Linked DNA regions of Homo sapiens: all the other regions are linked to region 4. The links are contacts of gene promoters, found by promoter capture Hi-C in human tissues and cell types (Jung and others, 2019). All regions are on one chromosome and are shown on one strand. The core of a region is centred on a gene start or on the middle of the fragment in contact, and the rest is flanking DNA. Distances in the headings are between cores, read along the strand shown.

What was found. The method cuts DNA at HindIII sites, captures the fragments that hold promoters and counts their contacts. A contact is called where the count stands out against the background at its distance.
Region 1: a fragment that was not itself captured here is called in contact with the fragment with the promoter of SEMA5A in region 4 in 1 of the 25 tissues and cell types used here (H1 embryonic stem cells).
Region 2: a fragment that was not itself captured here is called in contact with the fragment with the promoter of SEMA5A in region 4 in 1 of the 25 tissues and cell types used here (hippocampus).
Region 3: a contact is called between a fragment that was not itself captured here and the fragment with the promoter of SEMA5A in region 4, in 1 of the 25 tissues and cell types used here (mesenchymal stem cells).

The regions. Positions count from the first base shown.
Region 1 is chr5:9,837,847-9,840,926 of GRCh38, reverse strand. The region is part of intron 4 of LINC02112 (long intergenic non-protein coding RNA 2112); the gene reads left to right. It also overlaps a transcript of TAS2R1 not described here. Among named protein-coding and RNA genes, the nearest start is that of LINC02221, 15 kb to the left of the region's middle. The HindIII fragment of the contact is 3,052 bases long and covers 1-2,844 here.
Region 2 is chr5:9,287,736-9,290,709 of GRCh38, reverse strand. The region is part of intron 5 of SEMA5A (semaphorin 5A); the gene reads left to right. Among named protein-coding and RNA genes, the nearest start is that of SEMA5A-AS1, 220 kb to the left of the region's middle. The HindIII fragment of the contact is 3,986 bases long and covers 1-2,974 here.
Region 3 is chr5:9,269,175-9,272,374 of GRCh38, reverse strand. The region is part of intron 5 of SEMA5A (semaphorin 5A); the gene reads left to right. Among named protein-coding and RNA genes, the nearest start is that of MIR4636, 220 kb to the right of the region's middle. The HindIII fragment of the contact is 5,003 bases long and covers 1-3,200 here.
Region 4 is chr5:9,544,462-9,547,603 of GRCh38, reverse strand. SEMA5A (semaphorin 5A) reads left to right here and starts at 1,529. Exons shown (of 23, transcript NM_003966.3): 1 at 1,529-2,020. SNHG18 (small nucleolar RNA host gene 18) reads right to left here and starts at 1,404. Exons shown (of 3, transcript NR_045196.2): 1 at 1,074-1,404. RefSeq lists a silencer at 1,406-1,595. The HindIII fragment of the contact is 8,719 bases long and covers 1-3,142 here.

The DNA.
Region 1 (3,080 bases), core at 69-2,568, 290 kb before region 4:
CTCCAGCTGGGTGAAAGTGTGAGACTCCATCTCAAAAAAAAAAAAAAAAAAAAAAAAAAAAAAAAAAAATAAATAAATAAATAAATAAATAAAATAAAATGAAAAATAAAGTGAATGTGAATAGATAACATTTTTAGATAAAAACTGAAAGAGTTTGTTACTAGCACACCTTCACTAAAAATATTCTAATGGAGTTCTTCAGGGAAAATAAAAGTAATCCTATCAGAAACACAGAAATACAGTAAGAAATGAAGAGCAACATAAGTGATAAATATAAATGAACATTGACTGTACAAAATGATAAAGCCTTGGGATCTAAAATATATAGGAATATATAGAATTAAAATGCATGACAACAATTCAAAAAACATAAGGGAATAAATGGAGTTAATGTAACATTAAGATAGTGGTAAAAATCTTAATTCATGTTAGAGTTTAAATAGTCAAGAAGAGTGCATGCCCTAATCTTTATAGTCACCACCAAAAGATAATAAGATATGAATAACTAAAAATGGATGGTAGAGGAGAAAGATGGGAAGGATAAAAAACAAGATGAATATTGGTGCCATTCATTCAGATAAAGAACTCTGAAAGAGATTGAACAGGAGATGTAAACTCGATGGTTGGATGAGTTAATGTGAATCCCAGAAGTCTGAGCTACACTTTTTTGAGGCTCAGAGCTACCCTGTTTTCGTGGTAAATTGAAGAAGAGTGAGGAATATCTCACTTGTGCAGACAGTCCTCAGTTTAGCTCACCCTTCCTGCAGCTCACATTGATGTAATCAATGACATAGGTGGCAAAATCTCACCAGGGAACTTTATGCAGCTGAAATACAAGGTAGCAAGGAGAGCAAGAGTCCAAAACGTTGACTCTTTTCATCTCATTTGCTTGTAATCACAACCCATTCAAAGTCATTTTCCTAAAGAGTTGGATTCAGAATCCTTCTGGGAGGACGAAAGTCTAGAATGGTAAGCCAAATTGGGTTTGGCCTGCAAAGGGGCTAGAAGTTTCCTTTCCCCTAGAAATATAAAAATCGATTACATTAAGTATTCTGTATTAAAATGACTGAGATAAGAATAGTTAAATATGGAAGGCAGGAAAAATGACTATACTTTAAATATGTAATTACCTGTAATGGACTACCTTAAAAAAAAAAAGACGTGTGTTTACTTTTACAACTTCTGACAGCACTGCACATGCAAAAACTACCCGTCTGTTGTTCAGCCTTGCAAAACGCTCAATGCCTCTCATGTTAAGCCTGTGAAGAATTTTGTCTGTTCATTCTTTATTGACAGCTGTGATAGAGCTTTGAGTCACTTTGTACTTATTGGATTCCTCAAGCACAATTTCTCCTGTTTCAGCGTAGAAACACACCTTCCCTATTTGGAGATTGTCAAGAGTGTTGTGATAGTAATTTCATCATGTCACTGAAAGCTTTTCTTTTTTTATTTTGTTTTAAGGAATAAAAAGAGTAATGGACTAGCTTTTCATTTACTTATGAGATCTGCTTGTCGTTATAAAAGACTAAAGGTTGTCTTTCAGTGTATTTTGTTGTACAACAGGATGTTATTTTATTGCTGATATCATATATGAATTCTTACCACTTGCTTTTCACATGGCAGTTTGAGTGTCGGAAACCTGAGAGTTCCATCAGCCTAAATTATTTTTCCTTTTACCGTGTCTGTGCTGCTTTCCCACTCCCTCTCCTGCATTCATCCCTGCCCACTCTGCAGCTGTGCAAAGCTCTAAGCTCTTGAGAATCTGCCTCCTTGTCTTCACAGAGCTGAGCACAGAGCCCTCTTTACCCTAGCGGCTGCGCAGCTCAGGCTTCATCACTGTGGTGATAACAGAGACCTGCTCGATGCTGATGATGTTATGATCCTGAGTCAAGGATTTGACTTTTAAAACGTGATGTTTTTCCATCGGCTTCTGGAATAAGTACTCCAGCCCAGATTTCAGTGTCCAGTTAGTCCAGGTCTGAAACCAGAGCCTTCTAACCATCCAGCTCTCACTGCATTTCAGATGTTTGGTTTAGCCTGCTGTTGGTGTTGAAACACACCTCAGAAAAAGCACGGGAGGTCAGTGTTCCAAATGTGAATCATTTCCAGCGTTGAAGATGACCTTAAGGAACTGAGCTTCCTTTCCTAATAGAACATTGCATCTTACTCTCTTCCTAAAAAATGTATATCCAAGAATCCATTTTATTGGGCTTGCTAGGAGTTGATGCAGAGGAGAGTTGTGCTTTCGGAGCAGAAGTACTGTCCAGCATTTAAAGCTCTCAGAACCCCTGGTTTATTCCATCTTCATAACTGTGGATATGAGAATCAGAGGCAAATGTCAGTGATAACCTCAGCTGCTGAAGAACAGAAAGCTGTACCTTGAGGTGTCATTTCACATCATGTATGCATAACAGGCAACCTGCTTTGTAGCTTTTTCTTCGCATATCAGGGATGAAAAAATATGGCTCAGGAGCTGTCTTGGCTGGCATGAGGGGCAGATGTTCAGATTGGGTGTCTACATTTTAAGAGGCGTATTCTATTCGCTCCTTCATTCTCCTCTTTCCCACATACTCTTGATCTTTCTCAGACTCGGCTTCTGGGAAAAAAACCAGGGGCCCACAGATATGCCTGGAGAAGGGTGAGGATGGACTAGAGGTGCAGAGACGGGGCGCACCACAGCAGAGCACCAAAAGATTCCTGGGCACTTTTACAGATACTCAGACCCCATCCCAGACCTGGAAAGTCAGAAATTCTGGGGTCTATACCCAGGGATCTGTGCTTTTTCAAAGCTTCCCAAAGTGATTCTGATCATCATCCTGGTTTGGAGACTCCTGCCCTGGGGGGGTTGTCTCTGCATTTCATCCATGGACTTGACAGAGATGCTCACCATAGCTGAAGCTTGCTCTGTGATGTGATCCAACTGAGGAAGCAATGCTGGGACTCACAGATATTTGAGTAAAGAGAGACCATGAAAGAGACACAGACTGTCTTACTCAATGGCGAGCAGACAGTGCAGGCATCCATTCAGTGCCTATCTAATGTGAACCTACTATATACCAGGTGCTTTTCTAGTGCTGGGC
Region 2 (2,974 bases), core at 366-2,865, 260 kb after region 4:
GTATGTATATACACATATATCAATGTTTCTGTATATCTAGCGCTATCATCTCTATGTACCTATTTCTCCTTTTTTAAGATATAAGGGATCTAAATTTGCTGAACTTCCTGTTATTTTTAATAGTATGATGAATAGTAGGTACCTGTAGAAAAGAAATTGTCTTGTTTCACAATTAATGAGACCGTAATTGCTTTCCAAAAGAAACTCATGCAATATAGCAGCACAATACTCAACTGCAAAAATATTGAACCAATCCAAATGCCCATCAGTCAACAAGTAGATAAAGAAAATGTAGTGTATATATATGTATATCATAAAAATGAATGAAATAATGGCATTTACAGCAAGCTGCATGGACCTGGAAACCATTATTCTAAGTGAAGTAACTCAGGAATGGAAAACCAAACATCATATGTTCTCACTCATAATGGGAGTGCTTAACTATAATTATTCAAAGGCATAAGAACGATACAATGGACTTTGAGGACTAAGAGGAAAGGGTGGGAGGGGGTGAGGGATAAAAGACTACACATTGGGTACAGTGTAGCCTGCTTGGGTGATAGGTGCCCCCAAAATCTCAGAAATCACCACGAAAAAACTTATTCATATAACCAAACACCACCTGTTTCCAAAAAACCTATTGAAATAAAAAAATTAAAAGTAATTTTTAAATCAGATACCTCAGAAGATTTCTGTCCTTATGTGAATTGGTTGTTAATGATGATGCTCAACAATCACTATAATAACAATCTTACCTGATTTTTAAATATATAAATTTAGAAAATTCACTTTTGAAATGTCTTATGTGTACTTTTAACCCTTTTTTAAAACTCCCAAAAGGGAAGTTTCAGTGGACTTTAAGCTCATTTTTTAATCTTTCTGATAAATTTTTGAGCACAAGATATTGACATCAGTGAAGATGAAAATGTGCTTGGCAAATTTCAACAAAAAACATTGTCTAATTGGCAGATGAAGTTGAAAAAGTAGTATATCAAAATTTATTAAAAACAGCCAATGATGTAATTGGATTTTTTTTTTTTTATTTTTGAGACAGTCTTGCTCTGTCACCCAGGCTGGAATGCAGTGGCGCAATCTCGTCTCACTGTAACCTCCACCTCCTGGGTTCAAGTGATTCTCCTGCCTCAGCCTCCTGAATTGCTGGGACTACCGGCACGTGCCACCACGCCTGGCTAATTTTTTGTATTTTTTGTAGAGACGGGGTTTCACCGTGTCAGCCAGGATGTTCTCAATCTCCTGACCTCGCGATCTGCCTCAGCCTCCCAAGAAATTGGATTTATATATCTGTTTGAGTTGTCCACTTCAGTTATAGAAGTTTTTAAACTAAAAATTAATATAAATTGAATGTAGAAAACAGAATTTTAATTCATTCTATCATAAATTATTGCACTAAGTTTAAAAAGTTTTGTTAAATCAGACTATAACATAATATTTACTTTATAATATCAATCATTTTATCTTGATGTCATTATTTTCAGATGTGTATACTGTATTTAAAATATACTTATATACATGCACAGCTGTATGTGTTTATAATATATAAATGAAGACATATACACTGATTGGAAGTAAATGCCAGATCTCATTGATGAGGATGTGGGAGAAAAACATTTGTGAAAATACTGTTAGAGTCCTATTCAACATGTTTCGTGAGCAACACAGGTCTCTAATAGGCTTAAACCATCAATGGCAATGTCACTACGCTAGGATTCACTTTCTGACAAAAGAAGCATTTAATTTAAAAATCATTTTGGGAGAAAAAATACTTTTGTTTTTGTTTGAAGGATGAGGTAAAAATGCTTTCCTTTTTTTTGTGTGTCCTCATTTCTACTTCTTTCAAATATCAACATGATATGAATGAGATATAGTTTACAACTTGTACATTAGCTACTGTGGGCTTAATCTTACCAAGACTACATTTTGGTTCCAGCCACTTCATTATGCAACCATTTTTTGGTAAATTTATTTTTATTTTAATGTTGGAGAAAAGACTTATTCTTAGCATTGCCCTAATTTTAGAAAATGAATTTCATTCATGAGAGTGTTCTTGGCTAGAAATATAAACACTGTAGAGAACAGTTTCACATTTATTTTCTCCTGTTTTATCATCTTCGAAAGAAAGTGAACTCCTGCTGGCTATTTTCTCTTGCCCCTCCCAGCGTCTGTTTCTGCCTCTGTACTGGGAAGCTTCTATGACTGCTGTCATGCCCCTGTGCCCTCTCGCGGCCAGCTGGATAGGGCCATGGAAAAGGTCCTTGGAAGGCCTGTGGGAGAAAGGGGAGGGAAGTCCGAGCTGCGATTCCCACCACTGGCTGCCACTGGGTTACCTGGGACTGGCTGTGGCCCTGGCCTCACACCGCAGCAGCCACACCCACCTGGCTCTCCCTTTATGACCCTTTATCCCCCAGCATTCCTTTGGGCCCCTTAGTAGCCACTGGGAACTCTTGTGTTTGCCTCTTCCACACCTGTGTCTTTGTTGATAGTTGTCTTGTCAAGCCTTCTTCAAATTATCTTATGTGATGGTGTCACGTAATTCCTATAGAACCCTTGATTCATAAAGTATCCTAAAACATATTTTAATATTTTCCCAGTTTTGTGAAGTGCTTTTAATTCTATTTTAGATATGTCATGTGTCTCTTTTACATTTATCTTATACATTTGCTTGCTTATCCTCTTAATCCATAAGTGTTTTTGAAGACAGCAATATTCAGAATCTACTATTCTGGTATTCAGAATATTCAGAATATCTGGAAGGATATTCAGAATCTATTGAGTTTGGTTGAACATGATGACATTTTATTTTTTAAAAATTAGGGCTTGAGGGAAATAATTTTTAAGTTACTTTGCCATAATTGGCTAGAGCAAGACTTTGCAAACATTTTCTGTACAGGGCCAGATAGTAAATGCAGAGACTTTGCAGGCCACGTGATCTCTGGTATGGCTCATCAACTCTGCC
Region 3 (3,200 bases), core at 432-2,931, 280 kb after region 4:
TATAAGTCCCTGACTGGGGCTGCTGCATGTTTTTCAGAGATGCCCTGCCCAGAGAGGAGAGATGGTCTGGCTTCAGTGGCCTTGCTGAGCTGCGGTGGTGGGCTCCACTCAGTTCGAACTTCCCAGTGGCTTTGTTTACACTGTGAGGGTAAAACCACCTACTCAAGCCTAAGCAATGGCAGACACTCCCCTACACCCCCACCAAGCTCCAGCGTCCCACATCTAGCTCAGACAGCTGTGCTAGCAGTGAAAATTTCCAGCCAGTAGATCTTAGGTTGCTGAGCTCTGTGGGGTTGAAACCTGCCAAGCCAGACCACTTGGCTCCCAGGCTTCAGCCCCCTTTCCAGGGGAGTGAATGATTCTGTCTCGCTGGTGCTCCAGGTGCCACTGGGGTATGAAAAAACAACTCCTGTGGCTAGCTTGGTATCTGCTCAAACAGCCGCCCAGTTTTGTGCTGGAACCCCAGGGTCCTGGTAGTGTGGGCACTGGAGGGAATCTCCTGGTCTGTGGGTTGTGAAGAGCGTGAGAAAAGTGCAGTATCTGGGCCGGAGTGCATGGTACAATCCCTAATGGCTTCCCTTGGCTAGAGGGAGTTCCCTGACCCATTGTGCTTCCCGGGTGAAGTGATGCCCCACCCTGCTTTGGCTTGCCCTCCTTGGGTTGCACCCACTGTCCAACAAGTCCCAATGAGATGCACTAGGTACCTCAGTTGGGAAAGCAGAAATCACCCACCTTCTGCATTGATCTTGCTGGGAGCTGCAGTTCCTATTCTGCCATCTTGCCAGCAGTCCCCTTCTTTGTTTTTATTACTATCAGCCTTTTGGTCAAAAACCATTCAGTAAGTCTCTAGCAAGTTCTAAATTTTTCCACATTTTCCTATCTTCTTCTGTGCCCTCCAAACTGTTCTAGCCCCTAACTGTTACTCAGTTCCAAAGTCGCTTTCACATTTTCAGTTATGTTTATAGCCGTACCTCACTCCTGTTACCAATTTTCTTTATTAGTTCATTCTCATAGTGCTATAAAGAACTACCTGAGAATGGGTAATTTATGAAGAAAAGAGATTTAATGGACTCACAGTTTCACAGGCTTAACAGGAAGCATGGCCTGGAGGCCTCAGGAAACTTACAATTATGGTGGAAGGCAAAGGGTAAGCAAGCACGTTTTACCATGGAGGAGCAGAAGAGAGAGCAAGTAAACGGGGGAGTGCCACATGCTTTTAAACCATCAGATCTCATGAGAATTCAGTCACTATCAGGAGAACAGCATGGGGGAAATCTGTCACTATGATCCAAAGACCTCCCACCAGGCCCCTCCCCGATATGTGGAGGTTACAATTTAACGTGAGATTTGGGTGGGGACAGAGAACAAAACCGTATCAAGTTCCTTATGTTAAAAAGGAGAAAGCAAACATTCACAAATTCTTTCTTCAATATGTGAAAATATAAAACCTATTTTTAGCAAGCAAGTGATCAGAAAATAGGCAATGGGCTGGATTTGACCCACAGGCTGTAGTTTGCTACTCTGATGTACATTGGAGAAGTCTGCCTCTTAGATCTCAATAACATTATGGCTTATATTTAATCTATTTTTTTTTCTTTTTTGACCAGAAGTTCCAGGTAAAGCAAAGCTCCTTAACCTTGTCCTGGGGAAACCCTCCTCCCCCTGCCCCCACCCGCTGCCCCAACATCAGAGTATGCCAAATCTGGGCTGCTGCTTTCTAGGTATATTGGAAGCATCTCTAGTCAGTTCTCAGGCAACCTGAGAATGTGCTCCCAAAGTGAATGCTGTGTTTCCAACCAGACTCGACTTTCCCCCGCTCTCAGTACCTTTCATACTTCCTTTTCTGGCCAGAATCTAGAAAGAGTTGTTATTGTTTCCTATGGGACTTGCTCAAGTTTTGGGTCATCTATCTCTGAAAATTGTCATTTCCATATAGATTTGTAATGCTATTGAATTGAGGTTCTCGTAGATCACCCCAGGTTCAATAATTCTCCGGGACTCAAGGACTCAATATGTAGTCATGCATGGCTGTGATTTATTACAGTGAAGGAAAAAAAAATTAGCAAAGACAAGAGGTGCATGGATAGATCATGAAGAAAACAAGGTGTGATCTTCCAAGAGTCTTCTTCCAGTGGAATCACACTGGATGCACTTAATCCTTCCATCAGCAAATTGTGACAACACGAGGAGAGTGTTGTCTACCAGAGAGGCTCAATGCCCTGGGTTTCTCCTGCGGGCAGATCACACAGGACCTCTCTGCCTGGAATGTATTAAAATTGCAGACTCCTGGAAGGAAAGCAGATGCTTGCGTAAACCACCTTGCATGTATTAATAATTGAGGCACAGTGAGCCGTTTTTAACAGGGAATTGTGGAAACCCTCCTGATATCTGAGCTCCCAGAAACCAGCTAAGGGGCCAATTTTGCAAGCAGGCCCTTCTAGGATGACAGTCTCAGGCCTACTCTACTAAGTCTTCTCTGTGCAGCTGTAAAAAGGGGACTGGATGGAGTTCATTGTCATACGGAATTTAATAACACTGGCTTCCTAACTCAGAAGTGAGTGTTAGAACTAATTCTTATGTTTTGCATATGCAGATTTATTACATTTCATACTATGTATATAGACATAGAGAATATAAATAGATATTTTATAAAAATTTATAGAAGCCTTAAGGTCACCACCATGTATAATCTTACATTTTATATTTTATGTCTCTTTTGCTACTCTTACAACAGCAGTTGTAATTACAATGTTTCTATTCTATTTTAGTGTTAACAAGAATATTTTCATGAACATTATCTCCTTCAAGCTCTACCTCACCATTTTTTGGTAATTAGGGCATTTATTATTTTCTCCCCATATTTTCAAGTGAGTACGCTAACTTAGACAGGTGAGGCCATTTGCTCAAGGTTGCATAGCTAATCAAAACCAAGCCAGAACACAAATACTGTTCTTGTACTTTTTAGGAATTCCATAGCCATCTCCATTGTCTTTCTACTGAGTCAGATACAAGTCACAGCTCCAACACAATAGGTGATTATTATTAATATCTATTTCTACTGCTTCCATGCCTACAGGAGATCCTGTATTATCTGCCTGGCCATCTCCTGCCTGCCATCTGGCGCCAAGGTGTCTCTCACAGAGCTGGGGAAGGGAGTAAGCAGGGTGCTAGTCTCAGTAATTTGTTGTAGGTGAGGATGT
Region 4 (3,142 bases), core at 280-2,779:
GATCACCCGTGCCAGAGACTGGGCATTTGGGGATGGGCTGGGCTTTCATAGAAACCTTCGGAATTGCTTTCACTTAATTCTTTTATTTTAAAAAAAAGTTCTAGAAAATAAAGACACATCGATAGCAATTTGTATTTCCATTGTCCTCTTAGGTCTGCATGGCTACTGTGCGAGCTATGACACCCTGCAGCCTGCAATAGCTTCTTTGTTTTATGGATGAGCTCAATGGAACCCTTATGGACGCACCGGACCATGCCCAGGACCAGCGAGGCCCATCCATACCCCACCACTGGCTGGAAGGGCGCTGGTGTGAACGTGGGTCCTTGCGGGGGTCCCTACCTCACTGCGGTCAGGAGGGGGCAATTCACACATTTCCTCATGCAGGGGACCTTCAAGCCTCCCTCTGAGGCGCAGACTGAGTAAAAAGGGCCCAGAGATACTGTCCCGCACCCCCATCCAGTGGGAAAGGGCCACTCAAGGCCAGTCAGGACTCCCAACCCAAGTTTTATGCCTTATACTCCTATAACTTTACCATTTGCTCTTTTCGCGAGGCTGACCCCCTCCCTCTCCCCCCCCACCGCCTCCTCCAGAAACTGAAGAACTGCAACAAAGTGTCCAATTATACACGTCTTCAAAGGTACTTTACTTGCTTCCCAATTATCAACTTTTCACCTGAGTACTTAGTAAGGCCCAAGGATCCTGCAAAAGTGCAACAAGGAATAATTGACACAGAATTGGACGAATGACTTTGACCATACGGGACTTCTCTCTTAACGCTCAGCGTGGCTACCTGGGGACGCCTTCTCTGGCCTCCCTGATTCGTCAGATTTGTTCATTTCCTTGACTTAATCCCGCTGAAATCGACCCGAACTAGCCGGGAGTCTCACCCCCAAAGTGCTCCTCCAAGAACCCGCAACGACTGACTCTCTCGTCTTCTTTAAGGAGTTTCTCCCTCAGAACGGATGAGGATGTCACACAGAAAGAACAAAATCACAAAGTTCGAGTTCCGGAGGACCAGACGGCCCCTGCCCCCCATCCCCCGGGCCAGATTTAGCCGAGGGAACCGCACGTACCTGAAGCCGAGGCCGGCAGAGAGGGAGCGCCACGTCTCAGGTCTCGGCCGGCGCCCCCCTCCGGGGTGCAGCCACGTCTGAACCGGGACAGCGGGCGGGGGAGCCGCAGAGGGACCCAGTGAGACGGGGGAGGGAGCCCCCAAAAGTCAGCGCTCGGCCGCACTCGCACTGGGGAGGCTGGAATGGAACTCCTGGGGTGCAGCGGGGCTCCCAGGAGCGAAGGTGGGGGTCCTGTACCGGGAAGGGGCGGGGCCCGGGGAGGGGCTCGGGGAGGTCAGGCGCGGGTGGGGCGCTCGAGTTTCACCCCGGCGGGGAGGAGGAGGAGGAGGAGGCGGCGCGGCGGCGGGGGCGGGGCAGGGGCGGGGCGGGGCGGGGGTGGGCCCAGGCTGTCCCCCGCTCCCCGCCCAGCGCTCTCCGCCCCGCGCTCTCCGCGCCCGCTCGCCCCGCGCCGATCTACTTGCCGGGAAGGCGGCGCCGGTGGCGGCTGCTCTCCCTGAGCCCGCTCCCGAGCGCTGCTTTCCCGCCGCGGGTGGGCTTCGCAGCCTCAGGCCAGCCGCGGCCCTTGGCCCGCTGCAGCCCCGGCCCTCCACCTTCCCCGTGCAGGGGCGGCCCGGCCAGTGTCGCTCATCCCGGGACGCTCCCTTCTCCCACCCAGGACTGCCCCGCGGAGCTGGCTTGGACACCCAACTTTGCCACCTCGAGGGTCGTCTCTGCTGGGCGCGAACCTGCCCACCCACCGGTTGGCCGCGCGCTCGGGGACCGTGCTCGTGGCCCCCAAGCCGGTGCCCCCATTCTGGAACTCAGCGAGTAGGGGGCGGCTCTGGGGAAGTGGCAGGGGGCGGCTGCAGCTGCTGCCTCCACTTCCCTAGCCAGGTGCTGAAGAGGATCCTCGGAGCCGCTCTGGCCCCCAGGCGCTGGATGACTGGCACCAGCGCTCCTCGCACCTGGTGAGCGACCCCCGCCCGATTCCTGCGTGGCCTTGGCAGGAGCCCCTGACCGCGCCGCGCCGCGCCGCGCCGCTGGCCGGGACCCGGGGACTGCAGCGGTCGGCTGGTGGGTGGTGCCGATCTCGGGTGGGATCCATCAGCAGGCACCTGGGCGGGGGTTGCGCGTACAGGATTAGGACGACCGTCAGTCCGGGGGCGCCCACAGTTGAGCTAGTGCACGGGCTGGAAGTTTGTGTACCCGCCTGTGCCGAGGTCTGAGCATGGAGAGGTAAGGAGCCGGAGTGTCGCGGTGGGCGAGACGGGACCCCTGCCCAACACCCGGAAAGGTGCGCACACTGGTCTGTGCCCGCCCCCGGCGCGCCTCCAGGCTCGCACTGCCGCGAGCCGGGGGCAGGGGACACGGAGGTCGGGACTTGGCGGTTCGGGAGCGGCCACCTCGCAGCCCCACCGGCTTGGGCAGGTTTTCCTGCTTTCCTTACAGGGGAACCGGGAGGCAATGGGACTTGGGCTCAACTCCGCCAAGCGCCTTGGTTAATGAAAGACACTAAGGCGGGGGATGCAGAGGCCTGGGGAACCACCAGCCAGGTGCGCTGCAGCTAGGCGAGCCCCTTTCACCAGGCATCCCTCCGCTGCTCCACGGATTTTGCACACCGCGGCTCAGGGTTTCAGACCCCAGGGTTTCGGGCAGATCGGGCTCCAGAGGGAATGGTTTCTCCCAAGATGTGCGTGGGAACGGTCGTGGAGGAGTGATTCCCCCGGCTCGCTCCCCGCGGCGGCCGGTGCCTGGCTTGGAGCGGTCACATCCCTGTTCCCCTGGCTTTGGCGGGAAGCGCGTTCACCTCCTCGCCCTTTGCTTGCTTTGTACCAGGATGCCGCGGCCGGAGTTGGGATTTAACTTTCCTGCGCCTGCGGCGTCCTCGGGATTCCCGGCAGGGGGCGCTGCGAGCGAGCGCTCGGAGGACGAGGCGCCACAGGCAGTTGCTGGGTCCTGGGCGAGTGGGCGGGAGTCCCAGGCAACAAACAGCAGAACCAGGCAGATCTTGCAATAATTTCATTTTGGGGGCCGGGGGTTGGGGGAGCTGATCTGGTGGCTATAGAGAGCTGTCAGCCTTGCTAGGAGAG